4 separate regions of the Homo sapiens genome follow, and all the other regions are linked to region 1. Evidence: promoter capture Hi-C in 16 types of primary human blood cells and fetal thymus (Javierre and others, 2016). All regions are on one chromosome and are shown on one strand. The core of a region is centred on a gene start or on the middle of the fragment in contact, and the rest is flanking DNA. Distances in the headings are between cores, read along the strand shown.

Region 1 (7,413 bases), core at 3,397-5,896:
AGTGGGAGCAGGCACTTCACATGGTGAAAGCAGGAGCGAGAGAGAGAGAGGAGGTGCCACACTTTTAAACAACCAGATCTTGTGTCAACTAACAGAACTCACTCATCACCAAGGGGATGGTGCTGAGCCATTCAGGAGGAATCCGCCCCCATGGTCCAGTCACCTCCCACCAGGCCCCACCTCCAATACTGGAGGTCACATTTCAAGCATGAGATACGGAGGGGATAAACGTCCAAACCATATCATTGAATCTTGTAATATAAACTTATAACCTGAATAGAAAAACAGGTGTATGATTTATCTCTTAAATCTGTAGCACTTGCTTGAAATCCACTAGAAAGAGCTCCCCTAAGCACAACCACTTCTATGCACAAAATACAGCCCTTTTAAACTTCAAACAAACAAAAATTTCACTTTTTTGCCCGAGTTCTCCTCTGGGCTTTTAAGCACAAGTGGTCAAAATGTGTAAGTAAAAACACTCCTTGAAAGCCCTGCCTTTCAAATATTAAAATTATATAAATATAAAATATACAAAGTTATCAAATGGTAAGTAAAGCTACTGAAAACGTGAAAATGCTTTATAACTTGCAAAGGACTATACAAACATAAGATATCTTGAAACTTCTTTATTAACCAAATTATTTTGTAGTGAAATGCCATTTCCCTTCTAAGAAATGAATGGAAATAAACAATAGAGTTATTAAGGAAAAATATAGTATTTGCTGTGATAATTTTCCTGGTAAGATGTAAGAATTAATTTACTTTTAACTTCAGATGCTATCATTTTTTACCCCCTAGGATACTGTCAGGCACCAACCCTTCACCAGAAATTGTTTAAAGATTTATTTGGAGAGAGAGATGTGGCTCGGTTATAGTATATGTATTTCAAAACTCACACAGTACACTTTAAATATATACAATTTCAATTCTTTGTTGTTGTTGTTGTTGTTGTTGTTGTTGTTGTTTTGAGACCGAGTCTCGTACTGTCACCCGGGCTGGAGTGCAATGGTGCGATCTTGGCTCATTGCAACCTCCGCCTCCCGGGTTCAAGCAATTCTTCTGCCTCAGCCTCCCGAGTAGCTGGGATTACAGACATCTGCCACCATGCCCAGCTAATTTTTTGTATTTTTTAGTAGAGACAGGGTTTTACAGTGTTGGCCAGTCTGGTCTCAAACTCTTGACCTCGTGATCCACCCACCTCTGCCTCCCAAAGTGCTGGGATTACAGGCGTGAGCCACCATGCCTGGCTTCAATTCTTAAAGATTTGAATTAATTGAGTCCCTAGATTAGAAATAATTTTTTTGGTTACAGAGTCCCATCAGTTTTCTGGAAAAACGGACAAAAGGCTAAAGCTAGTTTCATTCATCACAAGGTCGCCATCTCTTAGTTCTCTAGTTTCAGGCTATTTCACTTGCTACAAGATTTGATTTTAAGAGAGATCTGTATGGAAGCATTTTAAAGTTAATGTCCAAGATTGAGCTCAAATGCAATGTGGATTCTTCTTTATTTTGAAATATTTATAGCTTTTCTATTTTTTGGCATACTCTTAATCGAGCATGCTGCCGATTGCTGGTCAATTGGCTTCGACACAGTAGTCCAGGGCCACAGTCGCAACGCTGGAAGATTTCTGGAGCTTGAGCAGTGTCTTTATGCCCTCTTCTGGAGCAGACCTGTCCCTCCAAAAGGACTGGCTTACAAATTTTCGTCCAAAAATGACGAGCACAGCAAAGTCCAGGGCCACAGTCAAAAGTTCTCAGACAACTTTCTCCCTCTTGTCCTGTAACAAGGTTAATGTGGGCTTTAGTGATAAATAAGGAAAGTGGCCTGCTGGGGGTTTGCTACTGGGATAAGGGAATGGGACCTATGACTGACAGCCACAAAGTAAAAACAGACACAGCACGCAGGTCTCACAGAGCTAGGTGTTACGCTAAAAGCAGTAATGCCATGGCGACTCCACCCCTACCCATCAGAATTGATCGTTGTTACTGGCTGCAGACTACCTTAGGCTACTCTCTACGTGACCCCCACAGCTTCTTACAGAAAGAGATAACAAACAGCACATGCTTCCTAAGTGTTTCTGGGATGGAGAAGAATAAAATCAGTCTCACCCTATCCTTAAGAGGCTGGGAGGAGAAAATGCATTTCTGAAATAAAATATGCTGCGAATGCTGTTCTTACCCTTCCTGCCTTGTGATTTCTTAATACTTGGCTTCCTTTTGGGTTGGTTTTCCTGGACTGGGTGCCCAGTTGTTCCTTCTGCATGTGTGCCATCTTGCTCATCAAGCTGCCTTTCTAATATTGGGGTTGCATCTTCCATCGTAGTACAAACATCTGAGGGACAACCAGGTGTAACTAGAATTATTAACTTCAAGGGGGAGAACCACAGACACACTAATTATCCTACTGTTGCATAGTTTGGCAGCACCTCTGCCTTCAGTTTATATATAACTTTCTAGATTTCTGGAACATGTGCTAAATATTTACATGCTCGCATGTGGCAGAGAAAGTAGCTAAGTGGAAATTGCATTCCATTAAAGGTAGTTAATGGTATCCAAGTGGAAATGGAAGTATTTGAATGATTACAACTTGAGTCTTTCCTTTAAAATCATTATCTCCAAGTCATTGGCAAGAGCTGTTGCCAGGAAATAAATTATTTTGTTTCATTAAGAAAAGGCAAGCCGGGTCCGGTGGCTTACGCTTGTAATCCCAGCACTTTGGGAGGCCGAGGTAGGTGGATCACCTGAGGTCAGAAGTTCGAGACTAGCCTGACCAACATGGTGAAACCCTATCTCTACTAAAAATAACAAAAATTAGCCGGGCATGGTGGTACATGCCTGTAGTCCTAGTTACTCCAGAGGCTGAGGCAGGAGAACCACCTGAACCCGGAGGCCGAGGCTGCAGTGAGCTGTGGACAACAAGGGCGAAACTCCGCCTCAGAAAAAAAAAAAAAAGGAAAAGAAAAGGCAGCTGCATACATTTACTTCAAGCATGAATCTAGGAAGCACCATTAGAGAGTGCCTACCCTGGAATATTCTAGTCTATGGGGCTTAGACACTACCTTCGGTTTAAAAACCACTGTTGGCGTTATGTCGCTCACCGTTCACACAGAGTGTCCCAGGGCAGCACATGGCATCTCGCTGGCACCTCCTCCGCAACCCACGACATGTAGCACAGAACGGCTTCTCATCGCGGGGCTGGAGGCAGAACTTTCTGGTATTGCAGTCCGTGTCAGACAGGCACTGTGAGCCCTGTGGAGGGAATCTGTTATCACAAGGCTAGGAAACCCCCAACACGATGGAAGATGACTTATTATTGAAGGCAGGAGGCGGAGGGAGCCAAAGGACAGTGGCGCTGTGACAAACCCTGGGCAGCATCTTACTCTCCAGTGGAAATGGTTTTCTCCCACAAAGGGAAGCTCATGTCACCCGGGGAGACCTAGGCGCTGCAAAGGCTATTTGAGTTTGAAAAATTGACTTAACTCAGAATTTAGTTTTCCTGTGCTCTTTGTGAAAATGGGAAAAAATGTTTTCCTATGTGTGTCTTAACAGGTGAGTATGAGATTTTCAATATATCTTAACTCTAGAAGCTGGCTACAGTTTCATTAAACATACTATTGATGTTTGTGGCATTCCTATTTGATTTTTTACTCTAGTGAATCACATTTAGCTTAGAGACCCTTCCCTAAGTGAACTGTCCTTTGATTTTCAATGATGCCTCATTGACATAGAGAAAGAGATACCGAAGATCAATTGTTCTCATACACAGTTGATGCTTCTACATAGACATACAACGTAGGTGTAGCATATATGATATATGTAATAATCTATACGATATATAATAACATATACACATACATAAAGCGATTCCTAAAACAACTCTCTCTGTGAAGTTAGATGGTGACAAGGCAATGCATCATGGCCCTCTGTTTAAATTCTCATTCCCATGTTTGCTTGCTGGCTGTGTGAGCTTGGGTAAGCTCTTCAACATCTCTGAGTCTTATTTCCTCATCTGGAATTAGGGAATGTTTCACCTATCTCAAATTGTGAGGAAGAGTACATGACGTATTACATGTAAAAGAGCTGGCACATAGTAGAGCTTCCAAAGTGTTCGTTTATTTCGTGATTTATAGACAAACGTATGGCCGAATGATGTGAAAAGCCACTGTGTTTATTTCATACATTCACACTAAGGCCACTGATCCTACCAGGATGCCCTCCCAAATCCGAAACCAATTCAATTTACCTGCTAGGTAAGACATTTCATACATGAATCAGAATGACTTACTAAAGCCTAAACAAAACACCCCAGCTGTCAGCAGTCCCGTACCTCGCCCCCCTCCCTAGCAGCCTTACCTTCCGGGCCCCATGCAGGTCAGCAGAGCTCCTGATGTTGTTGAAGTCCAGGACCAGAGCTCCCAGGGGAGAGCAGAGCCAGCTCAGCCCCAGCAGGACGGCCGCCACCATCCTTCAATCCCGGGGCTCCTGGAGGGTCCCAGCACTGTGCGTCACCAAAGCGAGGCTGCTCTCCACCCAGAGCAGAGCTTCCACTAAGCTGGCAGCTCAGCACGTCGTCTGTTTGTCACTGCTTTTTCTGAAAGAAGTAAACCTTAGTCTGAGTAAGGTGCGTGAAATCGGCTGAGCAAAGTCTGACCAGCAGGTTCCTCCTGAAACTATTTATAACCAGATGTGCCTCCTCCCCGCTCCGTTCCTTCCTCCTGCCCCACACAGGCTTCAACAAATCCCTTCAAATCTGTTTGATCAATAGTTCAAAACAAGGACTCAATAGAAGGAGAGAAGAGGCAGGGCCATGCGGCTTCTCCTCCAGGGGTTCAATCCCTCTTAATTATTGCATATCAAAGTTAGTTCAAAGGGCCACGGCAGAGCAGGATGTCTGTATCAAAGGCAAACTCTGATAATCACCTGCATTTCCTACCTTCAGTAATCCTTTGGGGGTAGGGAGGGAGTCTGCCCTAAGATCTGTTTTCACAGCTAATTGTGCTCAAAGAAAGGATGAATCATACTGGCCAATATGCTATAGAGGATGCCAAAAACTAATGAGGTACAAAATACACTGAGAAGCTGTAAACTGGGCTTCAGATAGTGAGGACAGATAGAAAAAGAGAAAACGCCCCCTGATTAGCTCTGGCATCCAGATGTCAAAATCCCAACCGCTTAAAAGTTGTGAACGTAACAGCACCTGTTCTGACTAAATGCCATTTGGGAAATTACTTTCCTTTAAATGAAAATTGAACTGTTTGAAGTTAGGGTTATTAGGAAAATAATGTAATTTATGAAAATCCCATTTTTCAATGGTGGGAACAATGATAGCGCATTTTACACAATTCAGTACGAAGCTTTGGGTCCATTTTATCAGCAACATATTTAATTTGTGTTGCATTATGTAAAACTCACTTAAGCAGAACAAGGATCCAAGTCTCTGGCTGATTTCAGATGAAATTTCATGTATTTCCAATTTTCCTAATACGAATTTTTTAAAACTTCTGCTTCATCCCTTTCCTGTCTGATTTTTTTCCATTTGGACTATTAGTCAGGTAATTTAGACATGTGCTTATCACTGTCTTAAATACTTTAAGGGTAGAACAATCTAGATCTGGATCAAAAAATCATTTTTTCTCTTCATTGTTTCATTGCTCTTAGCATAGAGTCATCTAAAATGCATTTTTTCTATGCCATAAATGATAATCTTATTATTTACTACATTTTCCTGCAGAACAACCTAACATCAATTCATTGACATGAATCTCAGCATTCTGTGCATGGGAACATTCTCAATTTTGAGTAATGCAGTGCCATTCCGAGGGTGATGCAGGTGATTCGAGCCTTCCTACTACTTGGCCCTTGTCCTTGGGTTGGTATTGCTTGTCTACCTCTCGTATGGAAGTTACTTGTTTTAATCCCTTAAACTGACATCAAACAACACCCTTTGATAGCATGATAACCCTGGTGACTAGGGGTGTTACAGAATTTATTTTCAAGTTGTACAATTATGACCAAGGATAAAGGAAAGAGCCCCCAGGGTTCTGTCTCTGCCGGGTTTCTCTGCTTCCTGCTGCCTCACTGTAAGGGAATTTCAGGTTACCAAAGGCCCCTGGCAATATACACAGGCGAAAGAACTGACGGGAACTCCTGTAACACGGCACAAACAGCCACTGAGCACTTAGAGCACTTGGCATGGAACAGAGCCTCGGATTACATGTTAGGAATAAAATTTGAAACTCCAATGGCCGGGCACAGTGGCTCACACCTGTAATCCCAGCACTTTGGGAGGCCAAGGTGGGAAGATCTCCTGAGCTCAGGAGTTCAAGACGAGCCTGGGCAACATATTGAGATCCTGTCTCCACAAAAAAAAAAAAAAAAAAAAAAGTAGGCCGCGTGCGGTGGCTGACGCCTGTAATCTCACCACTTTGGGAGGCTGAGGTGGATGGATCACCTGAGGTCAGGAGTTCGAGACCAGCCTGGCCAATATGGTGAAACCCTGTCTCTACTAAAAATATAAAAACTAGTCGGGCGTGGTGGTGGTCACCTGTAATCCCAGCTACTCGGGAGGCTGAGGCAGGAGAATTGTTTGAACCTAGGAGACCGAGGTTGCAGTGAGCCAACACGGTGCCACTGCACTCCAGCCTCGGCAACAGAGTGAGACTCCATCTCAAAAAAAAAAAAAATTAGCCAGTCATAGTGGTGTTCACCTGTAGTTTCAGCAACTCAGGAAGCTGAGGTGGGAGAATCATTTAAGCCCAGGAGATTAAGCCTATATATATATATATATATATATATATAGAGAGAGAGAGAGAGAGAGAGAGAGAGAGAGAGAGAGAGAGAGAGAGAAAGATTCAGACAGAAAACTTGTATGTATGGATGACAGAGCCTGGGTGACACAGAGAGAGAGAGAGATCCAGATAGAAGACATGTACATATGGATGATTTCAATGTATTATGACAAGCACTAAAATAAAGGTATAAATATAAGGGTGGAGGACTTATGAAGATATAAATACAGACGAAGGCATGATTTAGACTTTCTAGAGAAATAAAGGAATGTGTTTACAGATGAGGTAATATTTGAGCTGAATTTTGTTGGTTGCATAGGGGCTTCCTAAGTTGGGAAGTCGGAGATATCCTCACCTGGGCTCAGAGGGTGAGGTGTGTGCAAGAGGGAGGAGGTGCACTCAGGTGCTAGTGAGAGATTGTGTGGCTGCGGCAGATGATGGAAGGATGAGATGAAGCAAGATGCAGACCCTGATATGCCATGCTAAGAAAATCAGATTCTATTCTCTGCACAATGTAAAGTCATTGGAGATATATCAGACTGAGAATGCCATGATCCGCTGGGTGCAGTGGCTCATGCTTGTACCCAGCACTTCGTGAGGAGGATAAAGCAAGAGGACCACTTGAG
Region 2 (7,413 bases), core at 3,351-5,850, 830 kb before region 1:
TGATCTGCCCACCTTGGCCTCCCAAGTGCTGGGATTACAGGTGTGAACCACCACGCCTGGCCGTATATATAGGAGATTCTGCAGGCAATGAGAATATTTAATTTACCAAGTTTACTATGCATGAAGCTCTTTTTGTTTTTGTTTTTGAGACAGAGTCTTGCTCTGTTGCCCAGCCTGGAGCGCAATGTCACAATCTTGGCTCATTGCAACCTCCACCTTCCGGGTTCAAGCAATTCTCCTGCCTCAGCTTCCCGAGTAGCTGGGATTACAGGCACCTGCCACCACATCTGGCTAATTTTTTTTTTTTTTTTTTTTTTTTTTTTTTTTTAGTAGAGACAGGGTTTCACCATGCTGGCCAGGCTGGTCTCGAACTCCTGACCTCAGGTGATCCGCCCGCCTCAGCCTCCCAAAGTGCTGGGATTACAGGCGTGAGCTACCATGCCTGGCCACATCAAGCTGTTTTTAAAGTAGATTAACTTGTAAATCTCCACAACATACCTATGCAAGGAAAAATTTGAGATTTTGGAATGGGCAAAACATTACTGGCTATCCTTTCAATGTAATGCTTGATCCCTGTGTGCTGTGTGCCCATGTCTTTAAATTTTACAACTCTGTAGAGGTACAAGTTGATTTATAGAAAACTTATAATGATGTGAATATTTCTTGTCTTGCTATGCAGATGATGCCTGCCCATGGCAATATAAGTGAATTTTGTCCTGTTGAGAATAAGTCAAGCCCCCATTTGATTGGATGTTTTTGTTTTGTTATAATTTGGTGGGACATAGTCTCGCCCTGTTGCCCAGGCTGGAGTGCAGTGGCAATCTCGGCTCACTGCAACCTTTGCCTCCCGGGTTCTAGTGATTCTCCTGTCTCAGCCTCCCCAATAGCTGGGACTACAGGCATGTGCCACCACACCTGGCTAATTTTTGTATTTTTAGTGGAGACGGGGGTTCGCCATGTTAGCCAGGCTGGTCTCGAATTCCTGGCCTGAAGTGATCCATCTGCCTTGGCTCCCAAAGTGCTGGGATTACAGGCATGAGCCATGGCATCTGGTGAGCTTTGATACCAGACTCCTTTGCTGAAGGCCACATCACTTCTAAGTAGAGATGTGATCAAACCCCAGTGAGGCCAGGGCACCTGAGTCCATCCTTTTCATCTTACTGTAATCTTTCTTTCCACAAAAGAAAAGAAGATCCAAAAATGTTTTCAGCAACAATAGCTTCACTGGAATAAGTTCTCATATTCGAAAAAGACTCATTTGAGGGAATAACCACTGCCATTCACATTGCTTTAGAGGAGGTGGCATTTTTCTCAACATAGCTTTCTGTTTTAACCAGGTCATATTCTATGTAACACAATGCTGACAAATTCTGCCTAGCTTGTTAAGACAAAACCACTCGAAGTAAAGTCAGCACACAATTAACCTAAGTCTTGCTTCTTGTTCAGTTCTATTAGTTTCTATGGAAATAAGAATAAAAGTAAATGACTATTTTTGCTTCTAAGGAATTTACAATTAATCCTGAGAAGATGTCTTAAGTGTAAACCTAAAAGTATGGGATTTTTTGGCTCAAAAAAAAAATTTTCCTAACGGCCAGGCCTAGGGTTAAGAGGAAGTTATTTTCTTGGGTTCAGAGATTTGCATATGAATGTTTTAAGCCTCTTAAAGTGACTTAAAACAACCTGGGACCCAAAGTTGTTGCCAGCTCAAATGTAAATGTTTTTAAACTTCAAATTGCTGCTTCTGTTATCACTGAACCTATTAATTTTCCTTAAACAGAATTCTGACCATTTCATTGCCTCTTAAAAAGCTTCAGTGGGCCAGGCACAGTGGCTCACAGCTGTAATCTCAGCACTTTGGGAGGCAGAGGCGGAGGATTACCTGAGGTCAGGAGTTCAAGACCAGCCAAGCCAATATGGTAAAACCCCATCTCTACTAAAAATATGAAAATTAGCTAGGCATGGTGTCAGGTGACTGTAATCCCAGCTACTTGGGAGGCTGAGGCAGGAGAATCACTTGAACCCGGGAGGCGGAGGTTTCAGTGAGCCGAGATCTCGCCATTGCACTCCAGCCTGGGCAAAAAGAGTGAAACTCCATCTGAAAAAAAAAGCTTCATTGGTTACTCATTGCCTACAGAAAAGGAAACAGTAAAGGAGATTAATATTTATCTGTGTCTTGGACAATAGGCAAATTGCTTTCCATGAATTATCTTATTTAATCCTCATAAGGACCCTATGAGATAAGCGCCAGCTCACCACGGTACCCCAGCTTCCTGGTCAAATTGTCCTCTTTCCCTAAATAGTTTATGACCTCTTTTTTAATATCTACAGTTTTACTATTTTATTAAAATCCCACCAAATTCTTTGGGGAATTAAGTAAGGTGTACAAGTTTTCATATGAGAAACACTGGAGTGATTTGGGCACACATAGCTTTCTGGTCGGCCTGCAATCTCACTTCCAGAATAGGTCATGAAAATAACAGTGAGAAATGGCCTCTCCCACACCCAGCTTCACGTGTTAAAGCGTGTGCTGTCCACTCCCACTTCTGTTTGCAGACGTGGCTGCCCTCAACCTCCGGACAAGTGATTTGGTCCTCAATCCAGGTGAGACTGTAGCAGGCCTCCTTTGTTTGTGTAGAAGATCATCAACTTTGCCATCTTCTGGCATCTGAAGCTTTCTGATCTCCAGTCAACAACATAACGTGTACCCTTTGGGTCCTCTTTAGTGAGCTCATGGGTAGGCTGCTGCCCACACTCTTGTCAACAGTTTAACAACTAACACGAGAGAGCCGAAGGGCTGTTTCTTCAGTCCATTTCTCTTGGTTCTCCAACTTTTTTTTTGAGACGGAGTCTCACTTTGTCGCCCAGGCTAGGGTGCAGTGGCGTGATCTTGGCTCACGGCAACATTTGCCTCCTGGAGTCCAAGCGATTCTCCTGACTCAGCCTCCAGAGTAGCTGGGACTACAGGCGCATACCACGGCGCCCAGCTAATTTTTGTATTTTTTGTAGATATGGATGGTGTCTCACCATGATGCCCACACTGATCTCGAACTTCTGAGCTCTGGCAATCCACCCACCTCAGCCTCCCAAAGTGCTAGGATTATAGGCATGAGCCACCACTCCCAGCCATCCAACTTTTACTTCTGTATCAAACTGGATCCCATTAGTCAGTATTTCTGGATGAATGTTTTAGTTCTTTGCTTTTAGCAAAGAGACAGCCATGTGAAAAACATTTCCATGTTTTCTGAAAATTAGAACTGAAGGCATTATCTATTACATATCCATTGTTTCTATATAAGAATCCCTGTAATAAATTTTTCTCAGAATTCAGTGCAAGTAAAAGTTTATATTTTCAAACTTTATGGTTCATTTTATCAGACAAATGAGTCCTATCTGTTCCCCTTCCCGGCCTTCCTACCAGGAACTCAGAGCCACTTTGTGTGCCCCTGCCTCCCTCTGAGCTTCCTTGTGTCTTTCCTTAAATAGTTTCCGATCTCCTTATGATACCTACAGTTTCAATCTTCTATTTTGCCTTAATTTTAAAAGCTACCCCAAATTTGGGGAAGAATTACATAAAAGATATATAAGTACATATTAGTAACTTGGATATATATTAGTTCCCACTTTTTAAAACATGTATGGGAATGAGTGATTTATAAGCCATTTGACAGCATATGAATTCCTAAGTAGGAAAATTCATAAGCAAAAGTGGTAATGAAGGCAGGAGGTGTAGTGTCCTCTCACTCCAGCACTTGTTTAAAAAGAGTGGCCAGGTGAGGTAAGTGACCTAGTAACAACAGCAGGTGCCAGGTATAACTCCATTCACTTTAGTCAACAAACAGGTAGGCTGGCTGGGTGCGGTGCCTCACGCCTGTAATCCCAGCACTTTGAGAGGCCGAGGCAGGCAGATCACTTGAGATCAGGAGTTCAAGACCAGCCTGACCAACATGGTGAAACCCCCATCTCTACTAAAAATACAAAAAAAAAATTAGCCGGGCATGGTGGCGGGTGCCTGTAATTCCAGCTACTCGGGAGGCTGAGGCAGGAGAATTGCTTGAACCCAGGAGGTGAAGGTTGCAGGTGAGCCGAGATGATGCCACTGCACTCCAGCCTGGATGACAGAGTGAGACTGCATCTCAAAAAAAAAAAAAAAAAGGTGGGGTTAGACATTGTGGTATGTGCTGCACATTCAGAGAAGAAAGCCCCTGTCTTAAAGCAGCTTACAGTCTAGCGAGGGAGACCAACAAAAACCAAATCACAGCATACTATGCTTGTATAAAGGTAGGAATGGGCAGGGCACAGTGGCACACTTCTGTAATCCCAGCACTTTGGGGGGCCAAGATGGAAAGATTGTTTGAGCCCAGGAGTTCTAGATCAGCCTAGGCAATACAGCAAAACCTCACCTCTACCAAAAATACTAAAGCCAGGTGTGGTGGAATGTGCTTGTAGTCCCAGCTACTCAGGAGGCTGGGGTGGGAGGATGGTTTGTTTGAGCCCAACAGGAGGACATTGCAGTGAGCCAAGATGGCACTATTGCACTCCAGCCTGGGCAACAGAGCTAGACCATGCCTCAAAAAAAAAAAAAAAAGAAAAAGAGAAAAGAAAAAATGAATGAACAGGGGGTATTATGAAAAAACACAGGAAGAACTCGAAAGACTGGAAGAGTCCTGAAGTCTTCCCAGAAGAGGTGGTACCCAAGCCAAGACTTGAAACACTGGAGAGCTAGCCAGGCTGAGGAAGGAAGAGAGGATGGCTACTGGAGGCAGAAAGGTCACATGCAAAGGCACAGAAGCCACAGGGTGGATCCAGTACTCTGGAAACTCCCAGGAGTTGGGCATGGCAGGTGCATCAGACAAGATTCGGGGATAGGAGGAGAGGCAGTTTCCCATCTTGGAGGAGTCTTATAGGAGTCTCATGGGAGACAGGTTTTCAGACAAAAGTCTTCAGGAGTCTGATTTGTCATGCTAAAATGTAAATGTATGAATTTTGCATGAAAACATTTAGAAGGCTCTGAAAGATTTTAATATTTGATATAATCAGTTTTTTTGTTTGTTTGTTTGTTTTTTGCAGGGGGGGGTGGTGGGTGGACAGAGTTTTGCTCTTGTTCCCCAGGCTGAAGTACAGTGGCGCAATCTTGGCTCACTGCAACCTCCGCCTCCCAGATTCAAGTGATTCTCCTGCCTCAGCCTCCCGAGTAGCTGAGATTACAGGCATGCGCCACCACGCCCGGCTAAGTTTTGTAGTTTTAGTAGAGATGGGGTTTCACCATTTTGGTCAGGCTGGTCTCAAACTCCTGACCTCAGGTGATTCGCCTGCCTCAGCCTCCCAAATGGCATAAGCCATTGCACCCGCCTGATAGAATCCGTTTTACATTTTTATTTTATGTATTTATTATTTATTATTATTATTACCTTTTTTTTTTTTTTGAGGCAGTCTTGCTCTGTCACCCAGGCTGGAGTGCAGTGGCACAATCTTGACTCACTGCAACCTCCACCTCCCAGGTTCAAGCAATTCTCATGCCTCAGCCTCTGGAGTAGCTGGAACTATAGGCACATGCCACCACACCCAGCTAATTTTTGTATTTTAGCAGAGACGGGGTTTGTCTATGTTGGCCAGGCTGGTCTTGAATTCCTGACCTCAAGTGATCCGCCTGCCTTGGCCTCCCAAAGTGCTGGGATTACAGTCATGAGCCAGCACACCCAGCCCAGTTTTACGTTTTTAGAAATCCAGTTCACAGAGAAATCCCTCTGGTGACTGTGGAGAATGGAGGTCACACTGGAGGGTTAGGAGCCAGGGCTGTGTGGGCAAATCCAAGCCAGAAGGAATGAGGGTCTTGTAGTACATGCAGGAAGAGGTAACCTGGCAGTGTACTGGGCCTTCTGCTGCTGTAGTGGTGGACTAGGCCATATGGATCATTTTTAGTGAAGACAAACACTGGGTGAAACATAAAAAGCATTTTTCTAAAGCCATCAAGGAGCTAACAAGCTAGTGAGGAATTGTTGCACCAAGATCTAGAAGACCACAGTCAAAAGAGGTCAATACAGGCCGGGCGTGGTGGCTCACGTGTGTAATCCCAGCACTTTGGGAGGCCGAGGCAGGCGGATCACGAGGTCAGGAGACTGAGACCATTCTGGCAAACACTGTGAAACCCCGTCTCTACTAAAACTACAAAAAATTAGCCAGGCGTGGTGGCGGGCTCCTGTAGTTCCAGCTACTCAGGAGGCTGAGGCAGGAGAATGGCATGAACCCGAGGGGTGGAGCTTGCAGTGAGCTGAGATCACACTACTGCACTCCAGCCTGGGCAACAGAGCGAGACTCCATCTCAAAAAAAAAAAAAAAAAAAAAAAAAAGCGGGGGTCAATACAGCATTTGCCCAGGCCAAGTGGTAGCTGAGAGACAGCAGTGCTTCCAACAGCCTCAAGCAGCGATTTTAAATCTGGGTTTCATGGACCATGCAATTCAGAAGATTCATGAACTTGGCTAAGAAAAAAATGAAAAAAAAATACATTTTTTTTTGCACTAACCTCTAAATGAAGCTTAGATTTCCCTTCTATTATGAATCTAGGCAACAAGCCACAGTAATATATGTGTGTGTGTGTGTGTGTATATACATTTTTTGAGATGGAGTCTCGCTGTGTCACCCAGGCTGGAGTGCAGTGGCGCGATCTCAGCTCACTGCAACCATTGGCCAGGCTGGTCTTGAACTCCTGACCTCAGTGATCTGCCTGTCTTGGCCTCCCAAAGTGCTGAAATTACAGGTGTGAGCCACTGTGCCTAGCCAAGCCACAGTAATATTATCAATTGGTAACAAAGTCACAAGTACTGATAAGCCACAGTAATATTATCAGTACTTGTGACTTTGTCACCAACAGAAATCAGATACCTTCCTACCACATTTACAGTTGTTGCAGATATCTCAAAACGTCATTTACATTCCTATTTTAAAATTTCAGTCATCATTAGACCTGCTGCCAGAACATGTTATGTAATGCATTAATAAAGAAGCACATGTGCTACTGTTATTGCAAATTTGTTTTTTAATGTTTTGATCACTGTGTTTCAACATAATAGATTTCCTTTGACATTACATATTTTATTTATGCATTAAAAAAATATTGTTCTCACTTTGGGAGGTCAAGGTGGGAGGATCACTTGAGCCCAGGAGTTTGAGAGTAGCCTAGGCAACGTAGACCCCATCTCTACAAAAACTACAAAAGTTAGCTTGGCATGATGGCATGCACCTGTAATCCCAGCTATTCAGGAGACTAAATTGGGAGGATCACTTGAGGCCAGGAAGTTGAGGCTGCAGTGAGCCGTGATCATGCCTGGGTGACAGAATGAGACCCTGTCTCCAAATAAACACACACACACTGACACACACCTACATATGTACATATAAAATGTATATAATGTACA
Region 3 (5,683 bases), core at 377-2,876, 670 kb before region 1:
TTTCACCATCTGTTTTCTGTTATGCTTTGACAAACTGCTGGACAGGAAGAGAATAACAGGAAGGCTGGGTAAGGAAATGAAAGATTCTCATTTCTTGCTTCCTGCAATAAGAGCCAAAAACCCCAAATATTTCATAAAGAAAAAGAAACATCAGCCCCTTTTCTTTCCCAGTGCAACTGGGCCAAGTGCTGCCCTCTGGGCCTTGCCGGCATTAGGCAGGGTGGTTTAAGGGACATGCACCTGGCAAGGGACTTGAGGATGTGGGACAGTCCTCACTCCACTGTTAACTACCTGTGTGACCCAGGGCAAGATGTTCCATGACCTAGACTTCCTTCTGTATCTTTTAAGTCATGAAAAGTGGATAATAGCATCTATCTTGTTCATTTCTCGAAGTTGTTAGGTGGATCAAACGTGATACTATACGTGAAGGTATGTTCCAAAATTAAGATATAAAAAGTTGGCAGGGCACAGTGTTCATGCCTGTATTCCCAACACTTTGGGAGGCTGAGGTGTGAGGATCACTTGAGGCCAGGAGTTTGAGACCAGCCTGGGCAACATAGCTAGACCCTATCTCTACAAAAAAAGTGAAAAATTAACTGGGCATGGTGGTGCATGCTGTAGCTACTCAGGAAGCTGAGGTGGGAAGATGGCTTGAGCTAAGGAGTTGGAGGCTGCAGTGAGCTCTGATCGTACCACTGCACTATGGCCTGGAGCAGAGTAAGACCCTGTCTCTACACATAAAAATTTTAAAAAGTAATGCACCTGTGTGTCATGGTTTTGCAGTGCACTGGTTTGCAAGACATTATAATTGCACAATGAGATGAAGAAGCTTGCCTCAAAAGTAAATCAATGATGTCACTGTGCACTGTTTATTCAGCCAATTTTTGTTTTTATTATTATTATTGATAGCAAGACTGTCTCAGTGAAGGAAGCAGCGCATGGGTTTACATTCTGGAGCACACTCCTTATCTCCCTGCAGGCAAGAGACAGTTCCCAGGTGGGCACCTTTGCTCATCACTGCCGAAAACCACTTTCACCTGCATTTTTTTTGCGCTTCATTAAAACCACATAAGGTCACTAGGGCAGGCATTTTTATTATCCTATTGTGTGGAGAAAGAGGCCAATTCTCTGTAAGGTTAAGCACCTTATCTAATGTCACGTAGTAAGCAGAACAACAGATAACCCAACCTTGAACTTCTGATTGCACAGCCCAGGTAATTCCAGCTAGAACAGTGGTTCTCAAACTCTGATGTGTACACAAATCCCTTGGGACCTTGTTAAAATGCAGTGTCTGATTCAGAGGCGCTAGGGAGGGCCCGAGATTGTGCATTTCTAGCAAGCCCCCAGATGATGCTGACAATGCTAGTCCAGGGATCACACTTTCAGTAGCAAGGCCCTAGGGCACTCAGGGTTAAGGGCAATGCCAGGCTGGAGGACGTCCTGGACATGCGCCCACCCAGGCCCATAGCAGATGGCTGCCCAACGTGGGATCTGTCTCAGGGCACGAGATTTCCCCACCTCGGCCAGCATTCCTCTGGCTGAGGACTGAGTTCTCCCTGCCAGCCACTCTCTTACTGTGGAAACCAACATTTCTGATTCTGCCAGGATCACTGGTCAGGAAGAGGAAAGGGAAAGAAAGGGGCTGGCCAAGGCAGTCAAAGCCCTGGGTACAGGGAAAGCTCAGCAAGGTGGGCCCATAGGTGGCTTTTGTGGTGAAACGAAAAGTTGAGACTTACCCAAGGAATTGAATTAAATTGAAAAATCATTTTCTTTGAAGAATGACATGAGATAATCCTTTCTAGTATTCTTCCTTTTTAATTTGATTATGTTATGAGAAAACATTAAATTGTTCTTCGTAGGTTGTGTTCATGTAACAAGATCGGCATTTGGATTATAATAAGTTTAATTAAACAACATGATTTTTGCACTGTATTAAAAGAGAGCAAAGGAATGGGGTGCGATGCCGCAGATCCAGCCTGAGATGCAGGGTCGGCTCAAAACAGAGCTAAGCCTCCCCACGATTAGACACGGAGCACCAGTCAGCGCTGGCCCAGAGAAGATTTTCACTATGTAAATGAAAAATAAAACCCTAAGCCCCACACAGATCCCATCTAGGCCAAAGAGATCCCAGAAAAACCTTAAAAACTGAATTCCCAGCCACGAAGGAAGGGAGGTTGGACACGCCTTGCTATACCCACTCCCTTTCGGAGTTTAGGCGCAACTGACCGGCATTCATGTTAAAAGAGATCATAAGACTAACCAAAGGGACTCTTTGTGACAAGACACCAAATTATCAACAGGACCCAAGGCCACAGTAGGCAAGGGCTGAGTCACATGCCCCCTGGAGGTCACTCGGCCCAGGACCCTGGTGAACAGACCCTTCTCTCAACTTCATGCTTTTCTGCTGATTCCAAACTTTTAGATAAAGCTTTACTCCTTTAACCAATTGCAAATTAAAGAATCTCGGAATCTGCCTATAACCTCTGGGACTTTCTAGGTATTTTTGTCAATATATACCTTCCATGTATTGATTTACGTCTTTGCCTGTAACTCCTGCCTCTCTAAATATAAAAAACCAAACTGTAAGCCGCCTCAGACACACTTTCTCAGGACCTCTTGATGCTGTGTTGCCCAGGGCCATGGTTATCACGTTGGCTCAGAGTAAACCTCCAAAAGACTTTATGGAGTTTGGTTTTTCCATTAATAACTACATGAGAGCAATGATTATTAGGCCATCTTTTTTTTTTTTAGACAGAGTCTCGCTCTCTTGCCCAGGCTGGAGTGCAGTGGTGAGACCTTGGCTCGCCGCAATCTCTGCCTCCCGGGTTCAAGCGATTCTCCTGCCTCAGCCTCCCAAGTAGCTGGGATTACAGGTGCACGCTGCCATGCCCGGCTAATTTTTGTATTTTTAGTAGAGACGGGGTTTCACCATGTTGGCCAGGATGGTCTTGAACTCCTGACCTCAAGCAATCTGCCTGTCTCGGCCTCCCAAAGTGCTGGGATTACAGGCTTGAGCCACCGTGCCCGGCCCTATTAGGCCATCTTTTAATGTACAAGGGTCCATCACTTGAGCAATCTGCAGTGTGTTCATGGATGTATCCTCAGGAATCCCAGGCCACCTGGGAAGCAGCGATGTCCACACTGGCAAGGCCAGCCCCCTGTCCTGCCCAAGGGTAGGCCTGCCCTGGACATGGCTCAGGCTACCAGGTAAACCTCTGGTTAAAATTGAGATACAAGTGCCACTGTGACTCTCAGAACACGGACTGCCCCTCTGAGCTTCCCCTAAACCAGAACTAAAATGAACAAATGAACTTCTGCAGGTGACAAGGACAAGGACAACTAGGCTGGAAAGTCACGGAGAGGGGAGGGAGGAATGTGTGCCCGCAAAAGGCTCTTCTTTCCCAAGGAAATGAGCTCATCCTAAGGAATGCACACGGAGGGAGCTCTGCCCAAATGTTCAAACAACATTAGCATCAAAATTAGAAAGGGGAGGGTTTGGTTTGGGTGCAGAGAGATTTGCATGTGAAATTCTACAAAATTGCCAGACTACTTTGGAAACTATTTTTTGCCATGGAAACAAAGCCCATCTGTACAGGGTTTGTGCTTGGATTTAGTTATCTTTAAATATAATGAACCTGGCTCCCGTTCCTTTTATATAAGTAGGGGAGTGAGGAGGAGGGGAGTCCAGGTTTTTATTTTTAGAGGCAGGAGTAAGTCGACATCGCAGCGGGGCCGTGTGCTCCCTCTGCACAGCGACGTGGGACTCACTGCAGCAGGGACAGGAGGAGACAGCTGTCGGGAGCCGGCGTCTGTAGAAGAGCGATGCTGCAAGATGGGGACACGTGTCTGTCCAGGGAGGGAGAACGCGCCGAAGCCCTGCACTGGCACTGACGCTCCCTGCCTGGGCTGCGGAGGCCCTAAGCCAGCAGGTGTTGGCTGGAGTCACATGGGGTCCCACCCCGAGGCTCCTTCTCTGCAGCACTTGGATGCCTGCCACATGACGGATCTCCCATAAATTATCCTGTTTCCCGTGCGCCTGGCTGCCCCATAGAGTGCGGGTACTGCGTGTGGCTTTTGTCTTCCTGGCCCCGCTCCCTCTCCTCTCCCCTTCTCCCCGCTGGCCACCAGTCCCGCGGTGCCTATCCCTACACAGCCTCGCCTTCCCACAGCAGGCAGCCTGTTCCCAAAAATGGTCCTTCCAGCTTTATCCTTGTACTACCCAACCCCGTGGGGTCTTCCAGAAGCAACCCATCTGCTCCCTCCTCTGATTCCCTCAAGGGTCACGGAACCTGCTGCTCTGAGCAGCTCGCCTCCGAAGCTGGTGTGAGGCTGGGCCAATGTGTCTCACATTCAGGTGAGCCTCCCTACAAAAATGCCACTATCTAAAAGTCTGATCTCAGAGACAAATGAATTTGGAGATGATCATTCTCATTTTAAAGAGGTCTCTTGTTTCCAGGTTCCAGCAAGCTCGCCAGCAGCCCTGAGGATTTCTCAAAGTACGGTCGCTGTGGCCCCAGCCTTGGAACCATGCAGAGAGTAGGTTAAAAATGAGGCTTCCAGGCCACACTGCACAGTCCCACGGAGTCAGAATCTAGCAATGCTAGAAACGGGCTCACCACTCCCCAGGGATTTTTATCCACACTGACCTCTGACAGTCAGTTTACAAAACCCAGCTGACGTGCAACTGCTTGGGGACACATTTGTTGTATAAAACAAGTTCCGCCTCTGCGAGGTAACCCCTGGCTGGGAATTGTTACCCACTTCCCATCCCACTCCTGGGCCCTGAATAGCGTGATTACAGGGCAGGTAACATGTGGGAAAGTGAGGCGTGATTTCTGAGGTAAAAATAGCAACAGAACGCAAAACCCTTGGGCTGCTGTGGAAACCCCCCTCCCTGAGGGACTGGAAGGTAGCAGGTGACCTGCTCTCCAGGGGCAGCTGGGGAGAGGGGCGGGCCTTACCCAGGCAGGGCTGTGCGGGGAGCCGCCCCGGGGAAGCAGCAGCTTGACGATGTCCAGGTTGTTGTGATGGACGGCCACGTGCAGGGGGGTCAGGCCATTCTGCAGGGGACAAAGACAAAAGAGGCCGGCTGTCACTCCCACGGACTTTCTCCCAGGACTCCCTTTAGGCATGGGAGCACCTATTTTATACAGTAAAATCCTGTTTAAAATCTTTCCCAGGCCAGTCTTAACTTGGAGTCATGACAGAATGTCATCGGCAGGACCCAGAGCCCTGTGGGAACAGGGGGGAACGTGGGCAGTGAGATCAATACACTTGCCCGGAGAAGGCCATCGGGTCTTTCCAAAAGGATAAGGCCTTTGACAGAAAGGCCAGTCTTTCCAAAGGCCATTCTCTCTCGATGGCTACCCATGGAAATATAAACAGGCCGGGTGCAGTGGCTCACACCTGTAATCCCAGAGCTATGGGAGGCTGAAGAGGGAAGATCACCTGAGCCCAGAGTTCGAGACCAGCCTGGGCAACATAGTGAGACCCTGTCTCTATAATTGTTTTTTTAAGTTAGCCGGGCACGGTGGCAACTGCTTGTAGTCCCAGCTACTCAGGAGACTGACACTCGAGGATGGCTTGAGCCCAGGAGTCAAAATTGTAGTGAGTTGTGATGGCACCACTGCACTCCAGCCTGGGCAACAGAGCGAGACCCTGTCTCAAAGAAAAAAAAGATGAA
Region 4 (7,413 bases), core at 1,604-4,103, 550 kb before region 1:
TTTCTGTTGCTGGTAATAATATAAGCCCTTAATAATCAGCAACCTTGTCTTACACATAGTAGTGCTCAGTAATATTTGCTGATTTTCAGATTGCTTCACATTATTTGAGCTCCATATTCCCCTACCCTTTTTTTGTTTCTATGCAAAAGTGAAAATTCTCAGACAAGGTTGCTGGGAGCCAGGAATAAATACCCATCTAATGGTAGCAACACTTGTAAGAAAAGTACAGGACTCACATCTTGCGTTTTCCTAATCCAGCCTTTCCCCTTGCTGGTGTGAATGAGATGTATGCCTCCGCCAGAGTAGCTGGCCAAGATGCACCCACACAGGACTGCGAGCGTCTTAGACTGCTCTCTGAGTTGGAATTTAGGGCCTGAATTAGTCAAGCATCAAATGAAGAAATAATGAGATGCAAACTCTCCACATACTATCTTCACAGCTTTAAAATAAAACAAAATGTAATGGCCTTTAAAAGGAAATGTAGGTTAGACAGGATTGCAAGTTAACTACAGTTATTTTATAACATTAAAGTAATAAAAGGTATTTTTTGACCTGGTTTTACAAAGGCTATTTCTTCACACACATACACACACACACTCGAATACCTACCCATCTCCACACACATCCCCTCATATATACACACTCACACACACTCACACGCACACCCACTCACACTCACACACATCCACACACGCATACATACACCCACTCACACACCCCACACACATGCTCACGCCCACACACATGCACACTCACGCACACACCCACATACACACACGCACTCACACATGCACACACGCATACATACACCCACTCACACACCCCACACACATGCTCACGCCCACACATGCACACTCACGTGCACACACCCACATACACACACGCACTCACACATGCATACACAGATACACACCGCCCCCGCCCCCCAACCCCCGACACACACACCCTTGCCCAAGCAATAAAGAGGAAGCCCCCACTGTTTGCAACTCTCCTATTAAAACAGACTAAGATCATTCAGGGTTCAGCCCCGCCCCAGGGCCGCGAGCGCTCAGGGATTTTGATTCCAGACCCTGGGCACCAGGTTGGAATCAAAATGATGGAGTTCCCGGTCGGTCCTCCAGTGCTGAATGTTTAATTTCCTATGAAAGGCTGCGAGCTAGAGGAGGAAGCAGGAACACCCAGCGCCGTTCCCGCCCATCCTCCCGCTCCGCCCCGCTCCGCCCGTGCTGGGCTGTGGCCTCCACACCAAGCAGCCGCCCTGGGCCGCCTTCCTTCGTCTGTGCGTGCAGCGCCGCCTCCTTCAGCTTAGGCCCGACACTCCATGAACTCTCATTTTCCACCTTCTCCGTCTCCAGCTTCCAAGCTGCACAGGGCCAGGCCGAGGTACGTGATGGCGGGCACTGAATTACAGATCCCGTCTGTGGCCGCCAGCCTCTGTGTCCTGCCACCTCCTCCGAGAGGACATCACCGCCACCAGGTGGAGCGAGTCTCCTCCTCGGCGCTCCAACCACGTGCTGTTTATTACTCTGTGGGGATTCCCATACCGAGGCCTCTTCAGTTCCTGGAACAGTAGCACTAAAAGGCTCCTGAGTGCCTCTGTTAATTTGATTGTTCTGGTTCGCACTACAATGACCGGGCTGGAGAGGGGGCGCTCGTAATGAAACAGGAACTGCTCCTCGCGCCCGCTCCAGAGTCCTTTACATCTTTGGGGAGAGGGCATACGGGGAGCTACATTTCATTTTCCTGAAGATTTTCCACGCGAAAGTGCTGGGGAGAGAGTTGGGCCTGGGAGGCTGCGCCTTCTTCCCGCGAATCCCGAAAACTGCGCGGCAAAGGCGGGTTCCGCAGAAGTCGCGCGTGACCCGGGGCGCCGCCCTCCTCGGGGCCCATTCGGATCTGCCGCCCGTCCTCTCCAGAGCGCCCCCTGGCGCCCTCTAGGCCATCTTGATTCCACCGCCGCAGTTGAAAGAATTAATAAATAAATCCTAGTCTCGCGTCTAGACCGGTCCGTGAGGGTCCCCTGCTCACCGGACACCCTGCCGCAATCTCTGCTGTCCCATTCTGGCCTCCCTACGGGGACGGGGGCCACCGTTTGCACATCAGCGGCGTTTGGGACAGCACTGTGCAAGATCTGTGACTCGGCTTTCAGAAGCTTCTGCCACAAGGCTTCAAAGGAAACCTTCAATTTTCACATTTCCTAGGGGGAAAAAAAATCTGAGATTTCTTCTTGTGGCTTGATGAACTTAGCTTTCGTCGCTGGAACAAAACCCGAGGAACAGCGTCTTCGCCACCCTTGCCACCTTACTGATGTTTCTCAGGGGGCACATGCCCATCGCAACCTTATGACCAATCCCATTTTTCAGATGCAGAAAGAGGCTCAGAGAGGTTAAGTGCTACTTGCTCAAGGCCACAGCAGGGAGTGGAGCTGGATTCGCTCCCAGGCAACTGACCCCAGCGTGCAGTCGATGCCTTCTCCTAGTCCCACTCACCGTGTAAGACCTGGTATTTACAAATTAGATTCTCGTTGTGCTTCTCCATTGGAAGGGCACTAGGGGAGCTCATTGTCTAAGACTGCCATCCCTAACTGCCTTTTAAAAAGAAATCTGGGCCGGGCGCAGTGGTTCATGCCTGTAATCCCAGCACTTTGGGAGGCCGAGGCAGGCAGATCACGAGGTCAAGAGATCGAGACCGTCCTGGCTAACACGGTGAAACCCCGTCTCTACTAAAAATACAAAAAATTAGCCGGGCGTGGTGGCGGGCGCCTGTAGTCCCAGCTACTTGGGAGGCTGAGGCAGGAGAATGGCTTGAACCCAGGAGGCTGAACTTGCAGTGAGCCGAGATCGCCCCACTGCACTCCAGCCTGGGCGACAGAGCGAGACTCTGTCTCAAAAAAAAAAAAAAAAAAAAAAATCTGACGTGACAAGGCCTTTAGTTTTTATAAGTGAGGTCTCCTCTCTTTGCCTAGATATTCCTCCGATAACATCAATGAAATTTTGCCCAGCACAGAGCAAGTACTAAATAATGATTTGGTGAATCTAATGTTGAGCCTGCAGTAATCCAACTAGAAACACCCACTCAGCCACTCGGGCATACCTTTTATTTGGGCAAGGGGCACTGCAGTTCTCTGGGCAGGGGTCAGCTAGGAGAGACCAATAGATGCCCCCACCCCAGGCTCCTAGACCCATCTCCAGGACCAAACAGCCAAAGCCCCTCTTCTTTTCTTCAAAATACACACATTTCTAGAAATTCTCTGCAAAATACATAGGCTACTAGATAAGCACCCAGTTTCCCTCTGGGGTCATTTGTTCCCGAATGAGGCTTATTAAAAGAGGAAACTATTTTTAAGCTAAATCATCAATCAAAAGTATTCTTCATTCTGGTATATGGCTGCTTTCCACAGATGATAAAATCCCGTCAACTTGATCCAAAGAAAAAATGACCTACATAACAATGACAGCATGAATAACAATTAATCCTCCATTGAAATGTTCAAAAGCTAGAATTGTGGTAAAGCCAAGATTCCCAGGGAGTGTCAGGAACTGCTCTCTTGATTCTAAGCTTGAAGCAGGTAAAGAAAAGGTTGTCTGGGACTAGGGCTTTCGGGGATAGGACCCAAATCCCAAGGCAAAGGGAGTCAGAAGCGAGTAAGAAAAGCAAACAGCTCCTACCTACCCAGTGCCAAAGAAACGCAGACACCAGTTCTGTGTCGGTTCTGCTTGAAAAGGTCTGAGAAGAATAATTTGGTAGATGAATCATTGAAGAATAATTTTGCAGACAGCTCCATCAAGCCAAATGCCCAGCGTGAGGGCTGTGTGTATAATACTGTCATAACCTTTGAAGATAGATTCTGTTCATCAACACGGCTGTTTACATAATCACTTGGTCACCTCACCAAATGGATTAATCTTTTTGGTCACATTCCTTATCAGTGCATGGAGAGGCTAATTGTTGGTGGCCCAATGTGTCCCATAAACGGATCCCATGAGAATAAGCTTGCAGCAACAGATGATGAAGGGAACTGAGATACAGACGAAAGCACAGCGGCCTGGGAGACAGGAGACGAGGCTCCGCCTGGACCTTGACGACGACCTTCCTTAAAACTATGGACTCGTCATCTGACCTCTCAAGGCCTCCATTTCCCCATCTGTAAAACCGAAAGCCCCTCAGCAATCTGGGGCTATCATCTGAAAAGTGTGGGCAGCTGCGGGCGCTCATACCTCAAGCCCCAAGAGTTTCTTCTTCTAACAGTAACATACTTTGCACATGACCCAGCAATCCCACTCCTGGGTATTTACCTGATAAATGAAAACCCATGTTTGCCGGGCATGGTGGCTCATGCATGTAATCCCAGCACTTTGGGAGGCCAAGGTGGGCGGATCACTTGAAGTCAAAAGTTCAAGACCAGCCTGGAAAACATGGTGAAACCCCATCTCTACTAAAACTACAAAAATTGGTGGGGTGTGGAGGCACATGCCTGTAGTTCCAGCTACTCGGGAAACTGAGGCAGAAGGATTGCTTGAACCCAGGAATTGGAGGTTACAAGTGAGCCAAGATTGCGCCATTGCACTCCAGTGCAGAGCAAAAGTCTGTCAAAAAAAAAAAAAAAAGAAGAAGAAAAAGAAAAAAGGAATGAAAGGAAAGAAAAGGAAGGAAGGAAGGAAGGACCATTAAGAAGGTACCTGTACCCAAATTTGCAGAGCAGCTTTATTTTTATTTATCACCGCCCCAGACTGGAGTCAACCCACACGTCCTCAGCGTGTGAATGAATAGACCAACCGCAGCACCTCGTACAGTGGAGTGCTACTAAGGAGCGAATATGGATTCACACAGCAACACGGGTGCATCCCAAAAGCATGCTGCTACACGGATGCAAGGCCTTCGGACTATATGATCCCATTTAGGAGACAATTGGGAAAAGGGAAAATCCAGGGGTGAAGAATAGATCTGTGGTGGCAGGGGTGGGAAAAGCGGGGAGGATTTGCCTACTGAGGGGCAGCACAAGAGAATTTTGCGGGGCGATGGATCTGTCTGTATCTTGACCATAGTGATGATACATGACTGTGCATTTGTCAGAACTCACAGGACTGAATGAAAAGAGAAGTGAATTTTACTGCATGTGAATTGTTAAAATAAATGCTAGACAGTATTTTAAAAATCAAGCCCAGATCCTGCAAGACATTATGGCTCCCCACCAGAAGGGGAGAGACGGGGAAAGAGAAGTGTCCCCAAAGTTAACCCACGTTCCCTGGGACCCACCTCCCTCCCCACTGCCACTTCCCACCAGCCTCACGCACGGGCCAGGCCCTTCCCTTTGCAGCTCACAGCCCAGCAGATGTTAGGTCAGAATGCGTCCCCTCACTTGACTAAAGGTTTACAGCCAGCAGGGTGGAAATGAACCAGATATTAACACCCCCTCCTCCATGCCCTGCCCACCTTCTGGCCAGTACCAGTGAAGCAGAAGCCACTCTCCCACCCCCAGGCTGTCCCAAAGCCCTGAAGACCCAAGAAAGCAGAGCCAAGTGGAGTGACCCTGATACCAGGGCCAGCTGCCCAGTCCCCTGTAGCTGGGGAGGACCCCCTCTTCTTGTGAGGCAGACACTGGGAGTGACCCCTCCCTGCAAGGGAGATTTCTCATCCCCCAGGGTTCCCAGAGGGTTCCCAGAGGAAATACAGGATACCCAATACATTTGAATTTCAGATAAAAAATAAATAACGTTCTGATACAAGTCTGTCCTGTGCAATATTTGTATGTGTTTTTATTTGCTAAATCTGGCAACTCTGTCCCCACCCACAGGGGCATGCCTATGGTCACCACACCAGAAGGTAATCCATTACATCTCAGTAACTGTAGATCCATACACCCAGATAATTTGCTTCTTGGCTCATCTCCTGGGAATTAGAGAACTGGGTCTGTTAGCCAAACTCTCAAGACACCTGCCCCAAAACAACCTGGGGTGCTGAGGAAGGGGCACAAAAGGCAAACAGCATGCCCTCTCCAACTCCCACCCCTACCACAATCTGAGCTTAGAAGCCAGATGTGGGTGGCGTGGGAGGGAAAGGCACACCAGCCTGAGCACCTCTTTCTGAGCAGGCTGTGTGGAGCGAGGCCCCAGGCCCATCCCGGGCCTCCCTCCAGCACCCATCAGACCCTCTCAGAGGACACAGCGATCACCCCTAGAGACCCCTAGATAGACTCTGCACCCAGCCCAGCCTCCCAGGTCTCCCCCAGTCACCCCTGGTGGCCCACAGGGATTTCTTCACCTTCCAAGTGCCCCGTGGTGATAGCAGGTGTCTGGGGGTGGTGAAACCCACGGGTCTGTGCAATGTAGGGAAGGGGGTGGTGCCTCCTTTCTGGGGCTTTTTATTTTGCCATTAACAAAGGAAAAATCTGTCCAGAATTTATATTAAAAGCTCCAGCAGATGCTAAGCAGCTGGTCTCCATCTGCAAGGTTGATGCAACAAGGATAAACGGAAGCGTGGGGATTTAGGTTAGCTTAGACATGGGAAAGGGAGTTGTGAAAAGAAAGAAAGCCGAAGATGGGAATGGTCACCGTACAAGTCTAGGACATCTCCTTGTCCCTGGGTGTCCCAAAGATGGGCTAGAGTTTGCCTGATGAAGGGCCCTATCCATTCATCAGTGAACAGGCAGTTATTAGGCACCACTGTGTTCCGGGCTCTGTGTTGGTGCTGTGGCTGCTAAGATGTGTACAGAACAATCCTGGCACTCAAGGAGGTCGTGTTCTAGGGGACAGCCACCACCACAACGGGGCAAGCATACAGCAGAGTACAGGAATCCTGGAGCGCTGAGGAGCTGCAGGATTGGACTAAGAGCCCCGAGGCCATGCCTGACACTAGTATGAAAGGAAAAGCAGAGGTCAGCCAGGAAGAGGCTGCGGAGGGACGGGGTTTCAGGCAGAGGGCCCTGCGTGGATAAAGGCATGGAGGTGAGAAACCGCTGGAGTACATGGGGAACATGGTGTGGCTTGGGTGTGACATCAGAGGGTGAGAGGGCACCAGATGGAGGCCTAGCATGATCAGCAGGGGGTTTCCCCCTGTCCCAAGCAGCTGGAGGGCTCCCAGCAGGTCAGAGCCACAGGGTCCTCCATGCATTTTGGAAAGGTCACTCCAGCAGGAGGAGGGTGGCTGTTCAGGAGGCTGTCCAGGCTCTGGCTGCCGAGGCCTCCACATAGGCCATGGCCACGGGGCAGAAAGCAGGGGTAGGATTGAGAAAACCTGGAGGCAATGCCAGCAGACTCGGGAGAATAACAGGATGTGGGAGGTGAGGAAGAGGCAGGAGAAGATGAGCTTCAGGTTCCCAACACCAGCAAGCTGGCTAGGAGCAGGCAAATGACGCGGCGCCCATGTCGGAGGCAGCACTGGGGTTTTGTTCTTGCAAACCCCTGGCTCATGCCG

Evidence for each region. Contacts are between HindIII fragments. The CHiCAGO score rates a contact against its expected background, and 5 or more counts as called.
Region 2: a contact is called between a fragment that was not itself captured here and the fragment with the promoter of DKK4 in region 1, in 1 of 17 cell types (neutrophils). The highest score is 6.3, in neutrophils.
Region 3: a contact is called between a fragment that was not itself captured here and the fragment with the promoter of DKK4 in region 1, in 5 of 17 cell types (naive CD8 T cells, non-activated CD4 T cells, total CD4 T cells and 2 more). The highest score is 7.7, in naive CD8 T cells.
Region 4: a contact is called between a fragment that was not itself captured here and the fragment with the promoter of DKK4 in region 1, in 1 of 17 cell types (activated CD4 T cells). The highest score is 6.6, in activated CD4 T cells.

The regions. Positions count from the first base shown.
Region 1 is chr8:42,372,583-42,379,995 of GRCh38, forward strand. DKK4 (dickkopf Wnt signaling pathway inhibitor 4) reads right to left here and starts at 4,647. Exons shown (of 4, transcript NM_014420.3): 1 at 4,353-4,647; 2 at 3,098-3,248; 3 at 2,179-2,331; 4 at 1,481-1,777. The coding sequence starts at 4,463. The coding sequence ends at 1,518. The HindIII fragment of the contact is 5,398 bases long and covers 1-5,351 here.
Region 2 is chr8:41,546,555-41,553,967 of GRCh38, forward strand. All of the region lies in intron 1 of GPAT4-AS1 (GPAT4 and GINS4 antisense RNA 1), which reads right to left. Among named protein-coding and RNA genes, the nearest start is that of GINS4, 21 kb to the left of the region's middle. The HindIII fragment of the contact is 3,862 bases long and covers 2,670-6,531 here.
Region 3 is chr8:41,709,195-41,714,877 of GRCh38, forward strand. ANK1 (ankyrin 1) reads right to left here. Exons shown (of 43, transcript NM_000037.4): 16 at 4,962-5,060. Among named protein-coding and RNA genes, the nearest start is that of MIR486-1, 52 kb to the left of the region's middle. RefSeq lists an enhancer at 4,022-5,221. The HindIII fragment of the contact is 1,599 bases long and covers 828-2,426 here.
Region 4 is chr8:41,827,049-41,834,461 of GRCh38, forward strand. It overlaps a transcript of ANK1 not described here. Among named protein-coding and RNA genes, the nearest start is that of ANK1, 33 kb to the left of the region's middle. RefSeq lists enhancers at 934-1,491, 1,043-1,337, 1,178-1,837, 6,773-7,413. The HindIII fragment of the contact is 1,406 bases long and covers 2,151-3,556 here.